2 separate regions of the Homo sapiens genome follow, and region 1 is linked to region 2. Evidence: promoter capture Hi-C in 16 types of primary human blood cells and fetal thymus (Javierre and others, 2016). All regions are on one chromosome and are shown on one strand. Each heading gives the region's core, a stretch centred on a gene start or on the middle of the fragment in contact. The rest is flanking DNA. Distances are from core to core; before and after follow the strand shown. Region 1 overlaps HSF4 (heat shock transcription factor 4). Region 2 holds the start of CES3 (carboxylesterase 3).

The links. The method cuts DNA at HindIII sites, captures the fragments that hold promoters and counts their contacts. A CHiCAGO score of 5 or more calls a contact.
Region 1: a fragment that was not itself captured here is called in contact with the fragment with the promoter of CES3 in region 2 in 4 of 17 cell types (erythroblasts, megakaryocytes, non-activated CD4 T cells and 1 more); the score reaches 7.4 in erythroblasts.

The regions. Positions count from the first base shown.
Region 1 is chr16:67,166,603-67,169,780 of GRCh38, forward strand. It overlaps HSF4 (heat shock transcription factor 4), which reads left to right. Exons shown (of 13, transcript NM_001374675.1): 6 at 1-20; 7 at 518-620; 8 at 873-997; 9 at 1,118-1,345; 10 at 2,229-2,334; 11 at 2,434-2,499; 12 at 2,677-2,746; 13 at 3,029-3,178. Among named protein-coding and RNA genes, the nearest start is that of NOL3, 2.3 kb to the right of the region's middle. RefSeq lists an enhancer at 2,993-3,042. The HindIII fragment of the contact is 307 bases long and covers 1,100-1,406 here.
Region 2 is chr16:66,959,971-66,963,227 of GRCh38, forward strand. It overlaps CES3 (carboxylesterase 3), which reads left to right and starts at 1,296. Exons shown (of 13, transcript NM_024922.6): 1 at 1,296-1,419; 2 at 3,209-3,257. The coding sequence starts at 1,338. RefSeq lists enhancers at 938-1,187, 992-1,493, 1,278-1,487. The HindIII fragment of the contact is 21,813 bases long and covers 1-1,309 here.

The DNA.
Region 1 (3,178 bases), core at 3-2,502, 210 kb after region 2:
GCAGGAGGCAAGAGAAAGCTGTGAGTGAGAAAGCCAAGAAGGCCCACACCCACTTCCAAGACCCCCCAGAAGTCCCCTTGCAAGGACCCCTTCTCCTCTGGAAACTCCTTCACCGGGAATCCTCATTCCTCCCCCTGCGCTACAGGCTTCCTCACCCCATCTAGGATCCACTTCCCCCCAACTCTGCCACCTGGTATCCCCACTCCCAGATCCTCCCATTCCAGGACCTTATTCCCAAATTCCTACCCCAGCAGCCCCTTCCCCCTCCGGCAAGGCTTCCCAACAGCTGAGACCCTGGGGCTCAAACCAGGTTCCCTCCCTCCCCTCTCTACCCACAAAGGGCCCCCATCTCTAGGGGGAGCCCCTTCCACCTCCAGCATGTGACTGACACCCTAGCAACAGGCCTCAGCTCTGCTGACTTGGCTGCTGGGGCCTGAGGGAGGGAGGGAAGTGCAGGCCGAGGTGCATGGGGGCTGACCCTGCCCCACCCCTGCCTGTGCCCTGATCGACCACACAGGTCCCTGATGCTGGATGAGGGGAGCTCATGCCCAACACCTGCCAAGTTCAACACCTGCCCTCTACCTGGTGCCCTTCTGCAGGACCCCTACTTCATCCAGTCGGTAGGTTTGTCTTCTTCCCCCTTCCCAAGGGCATGGCTGGGCTTATGGAGAGCCTGTTCCTTCTCCCCATCCCCTAAAAGGAAGAGAAGATGGAAGCCAGCCTTCCCCCCAACCAGACCCAGGCCCTCCAGCATGGACTGAGCCTCCTCCCTCAAACCTTCTCCCTTAGACCTGGCCCAGGTGGGTGTTGGTGGGGTTCTGGCTCTCCCTGTGCCTACAGGCCAAGGGCTGGGCCTAGCCTTCTACTTACAGCCTCTCCCAGAGACAAATTTGGGCCTTAGCCCTCACAGGGCCAGGGGCCCCATCATCTCTGACATCCCAGAAGACTCTCCATCCCCTGAGGGGACCAGGCTTTCTCCCTCCAGTGATGGCAGGAGGTAAGGGGGACAGGGCTGCCCCTGAGGGGCCTGTGGGGGAGGGCCTGGCAGCCCAGATGGCTGTAGGGGTAGAGGGAGAAGTCAGTGCCAGGGTCTGGTTGAAGCTTTTCTCTGGTGCAGGGAGAAGGGCCTGGCACTGCTCAAAGAAGAGCCGGCCAGTCCAGGGGGGGATGGCGAGGCCGGGCTGGCCCTGGCCCCAAACGAGTGTGACTTCTGCGTGACAGCCCCCCCGCCACTGCCTGTGGCTGTGGTGCAGGCCATCCTGGAAGGGAAAGGGAGCTTCAGCCCCGAGGGGCCCAGGAATGCCCAACAGCCTGAACCAGGGGATCCCAGGGAGATACCTGACAGGTGAGCAGAGCCCCAGCTGGCCCATGAGCCCTGTGATAGAACAGCCCTTACCAGCCCACAAAGCTTCCTAGCCATTTGACTCCATGATACTCACCTGATTTCTTGGCCCCAGCATCAGAGTTCTGTGGAAAGCAGAGCCTCCCAGTCAGGGCACTCAGCATCTGCGGAAGGGCTTAGGAACCTACATATGAAATGAGTTCCCTGGGGTGACTGCAAAGTACACAATAGTTTAAGAAGCATTGGTGGCTATGAGGTGGCTCATGCATGTAATCCCAGCACTTTGGGAGGCTGAGGCGGGCAGATCACTTGAGGTCAGGAGTTCAACACCAGCCTGGCCAACATGGTGAAACCCCCCGCCTCTGCTAAAAATACAAAAATTAGCTGGGTGTGGTGGCGTTTGCCTGTAGTCCCAGCTACTCAGGAGGCTGAGGCAGGACAGTCGCTTGAACTTGGGAGGTGGAGGCTGCAGTTAGCCAAGACAGTGCCATAGTGACATAGTGGGTGACATAGTGAAACTGTCTCCAAAAAAAAGAAAAGAAAGAAAGAAGGAAAGAGAGAGAGAGAGAGAAAGAAAAAAGAAAGGAAGAAAGAAAGAAATAAAGAAAGAAGAGAAAGAAGCATGGATATTGATACTTGCATAGGGAGGGGAAGGGTCCCAAAGCCCCAGCTCCACCACCCAAACTTCAGGTCCCAGGTAGGAAGCAGAGGCACTTTCTCTGTGCCATTTATGGCAGGAGTGGGGAGGTTGGGGGTGGAGAGAGGATGGGGATCCTCTCCTATCATTTTCTAAAGATTGGGGGATTAAAATCTTGATGCATCTGGGTTCCTTGGGAACTTAATGCGGGGTGGACACTGCAGGCCAAAAGCAGTTCTGTCTGCACAGGGGGCCTCTGGGCCTGGAAAGCGGGGACAGGAGCCCAGAGAGTCTGCTGCCTCCGATGCTGCTTCAGCCCCCTCAAGAAAGTGTGGAACCTGCAGGGCCTCTAGATGTGAGTACCCCTTCTGCTGAAACAGGGGCATGAGACCTGGTGGGGTCTAGCTCTCTGTGGAGCCTGGGGAGGGCACCACTGACCCAGAGCTCTCCTCAGGTGCTGGGCCCCAGTCTCCAAGGGCGAGAATGGACCCTGATGGACTTGGACATGGAGCTGTCCTTGGTAAGAAGTGGGTCGGGGAGGGCAGAGGCCAGGGGTGGCTGAGTCAAGCCCTCTGGTCCATAGCTGTTCTCTGTGAGCCAAAGCCGTGTCTCTAGAAGAATTGTCACAGTGATTTCCCAGCTGTCCCCCTCAGCTGCTAGGTCCCCTCCCCAGCTGCTCCCTGCGGTTCTCACGCAGATGCAGCCCTTGGTTCCAGAGCGGGGTGAGCCTGAGCTGGCGGTCAAGGGGTTAAATTCTCCAAGCCCAGGTAATGGTTGTGATGACTCCTACCTGGGAGGACGCCGTGATTGGGCTGAGCTACCTTGATTGAGTGAGGGGGCAATCTGCAATTTGCAGGGAAATCCTGAGTTCAGGCTGCACTGCAGAGCGTTCCTTGAGCCACCCATGCCCTCACCATTGGGCGAGAGTGGGGAGGTTAAGAATGGATGTTTTATCCTAACTGAGCAGAAGGCAGGCGGGCAGGGCTCTCCTTCCCTGAAGAAAGGAGGGGGAACATTTCCCCTGGTGAGCGCAGTCCCACTTCTCCTAGGGAAGGACCCCACGCTCGGGGCCCCACTCCTGCTGGATGTCCAGGCGGCCTTGGGAGGCCCAGCCCTGGGCCTGCCTGGGGCTTTAACCATTTATAGCACTCCTGAGAGCCGGACTGCCTCCTACTTGGGCCCGGAAGCCAGTCCCTCCC
Region 2 (3,257 bases), core at 46-2,545:
TGGCACTAGTTATTTTTGGCAGAAGGGAAGTTTCATCCTAAAGCCTGTCTCTTCAGCTCTGGGTGCCAGCTGGAGCCCCGGAAGAGGATCTGGCATCGTGTTTAGGCACAACCCTCACTCTGTCTTTCACTGGGCCAGCAAATATCTATCCATCCTCCCACCGCCTACTCCCAGCCAGCCATGTTCCTGACACTGAGGCCCAGAAGTGAGTCCTGCCCTCCCTGGGGGTGGGAGCCTCCTAAGCCAGCAGAGAGACAGATGCCCTGCAGATCCCCGCCCCGGTCAAGAGCAGGCTTCCATCAGTTCTGGTTCCCAGACTCTCCTCTCCTCAGGCTTCCATGAGTTCTGGTTCCAAGCCCCTCCCCTCCTCTCCCCTCCCCTCCCTCCCTCCCTCCCTCTCTCTCTTTCTTTCTCTCTCTATTTTTCTTTTTTCTCTTTTTGTTTCTTTCTCTTTTTCTGTCTCTTTTTCTTTCTCTCTCTCCTTTCTCTCTCTCCTTCTTTCTCTCTCTCCTTTCTTTCTTCTCTCTCTCTCTTTCTCTCTTTCTTTGTCTTGCTCTATAGCCTAGCCTAGAGTGCAGTGGCATTATCACAGCTCACTGCAGTCTCGACAACCTGGGCTCAAGTGATCCTCTCACCTCAGCCTCCCAAGTAGCTGGGACCACAGGCATGCACCATCACACCTGGCTAATTTTTTTTATTTTTTCTAGAGACGTGTCTCCCTGTGTTGCCCAGGCTGGTCTCAAACTCCTGGGCTCAAGCGATCTTCCTGCCCCATCCTCCTAAAGCACTGGGATTACAGGTATGAGCCACCACACCCAGTCCCAAGCCTCATGTTTTCACACACACACTCACACACACATGCAAACATGTACCCTCACTTCAATGCTATGAGGTGGGTCCTATTATCATCACTGTTTTATTTTCTTTCACATTTTAACATGAGATTTGGAGGGGACAAAACATCCAAACCATATCAAGCCCTCACCTCAGGCTGGGTTGCCCACTCGGAGTGGCACCCCAGGGTCACTGGCCACCACTTCCTAGGGTCAGTGATGTGGTCACCTTGGGATGAACGCACAGGATTTCATGGAGATCACCAAGTCAGGAGAGCTGGAATTTGAAAACAGTGGGACGGGGAGGGCTGTCATATCAACCAGGCCTCTGCAGGGCACTCATCTAGCCCTGCCTCTGGCTCAGCCTGAGCATGGGGCTGGCCACCAGCTAGGTGGCGCTGTCCTTGGAGGTTCTATATCACAGCCCTTTAGAGATCGGTGGTGCTGAAGGGCAGGGATCTTATTCCACCTTCTGAAGCTTCTGTCGAACCAGTTGTAAGGAGAATGGAGAGAGCAGTGAGAGTGGAGTCCGGGGTCCTGGTCGGGGTGGTCTGTCTGCTCCTGGCATGCCCTGCCACAGCCACTGGTAAGACACACCTGCTGGGCCTGCAGAGGTACTTGGTGTGGAGGAGTCAAGAGTGAGACAGGGACAGGGAGCAGTGGGCCGACCGCTCAGGAAACAGTCCTGTTTGGAGGCAGACCAGGGGTTGTGCATTCTCTCTGGGCAGGCGCTCTGCTCTTGCTGTATTTGTTTCGTTGTTTTTGTTGTTGTTGTTTGAGACAGAGTTTTGCTCTTGTTACCCAGGCTGGAGTGCAATGGCGCGATCTCGGCTCACTGCAACCTCCGCCTCCTGGATTCAAGCGATTCTCCTGCCTCAGCCTCCTGAGTAGCTGGGATTACAGGCACCTGCCACCATGGCCGGCTAATTTTTGTATTTTTAGGAGAGATGGGGTTTCACCATGTGGGCCAGGCTGGTCTCAAACTCCTGACCTCAGGTGACCCACCTGCCTCGGCCTCCCAAAGTGCTGGGATTACAGGCGTGAGCCACCGCACCTGGCCTGTCTTTATGTCTTAAGGGGGCCTGAGATTTGTTTTAATGAAGTATAGTAAGACAAGCAGATATGCAAATGACTATCATGAGGGAAGGAGTTTGCTCGTAGTTCCCTGTGAACAGGAAGCAGGCCATGCCACATAGGGCCACAGAGGGAAGCACCAGGTGGCATCAGCCAGGAGGCAGAGGGAGCAGGGGGAAAATGTGGGCAAGCCCCTTTGACACGGTTGCCACGGGAAGGAATAGGCAAGGCAGGCTAAAGAGGTTTACGATTGGCAGCAGGCTCTGGGGAAAGGGGCTGTCCCCAGCCAGCTTCCTGGTACCCGGCTCTGTGGTGATTATGGCTGGTGGATGGCAGCCAGGAGCTGAGAGCTGTATAAAGGAGGTGGTTGGGTATGGCTCTGGACTGGTTTGCCTTTGCTCCCTAGAGAGATGCCTGCCAATTCCACCTCCCCAGAGAGCTGCCTCCTATCTCTAGGAATTGTCTAGCCTGGGAGAGGCAGTCCTCCAGTCTTAGTCTGTTTGTGTTGTTGTAAAAGAATACAGGAAGCTGGGTAATTCACAAAGAAAAGAAGTTTAGTTAGGCCACAGTTCTGCAGGCCGTACAAGAAACATGGTGCCAGCTGGGCATGATGGCTCACACCTGTCGTCCCAGCACTTGGGGAGGCTGAGGTGAAAGGATTGCTTGAGCCCAGGGGTTTGAGACCAGCCTGGGCAACATAATGAGACCCCATCTCTACTTTTTAAAAAATAATTCAGGGCTGGGCATGATGGCTCATGCCTGTAATGCCAGCACTTTGGGAGCCCCAGGTGGATGGATTACTTGAGGTCAGGAGTTCGAGACCAGCCTGGCCAACATGATGAAACCCCGTCTCTACTAAAAATACAAAAATTAGCCAGGCGTTGTGGTGCACACCTGTAATCCCAGCTACTTGGGAGGCTGAGGCCCTGGAGTCGCTTGAACTCGGGAGTCAGAGGTTGCAGTGAGCCAAGATCGTGCCACTGCACTCCAGCTTGGTCAACAGAGCTAGACCCTGTCTCAAACACAAAAAATAAAAACAAAGAAATGGGCAAGTGGCTGGCCCCAAGGCACAAGGCCCTAGTGGCAGGCCCGGTCTGGCCTGGAGTGGAGTGGTAGTGACTCTCAGGCAGGCAGGGAGGAGGAAGTTGGGCGTCAACCTAAGACCAGGCTCACCGGCTTGCTGGGAAGGTTACCAAGATGCTGTGTGGTAAGTACTGAGAACAGCCTGAGGGTTTGTCTTTCACTCCTTCCCCTCATGGGGGCTGCAAACTCACCCCGTGGCCTTTCTGTCCTTCCCTCAGGGCCCGAAGTTGCTCAGCCTGAAGTAGACACCACCCTGGGTCGTGTGCG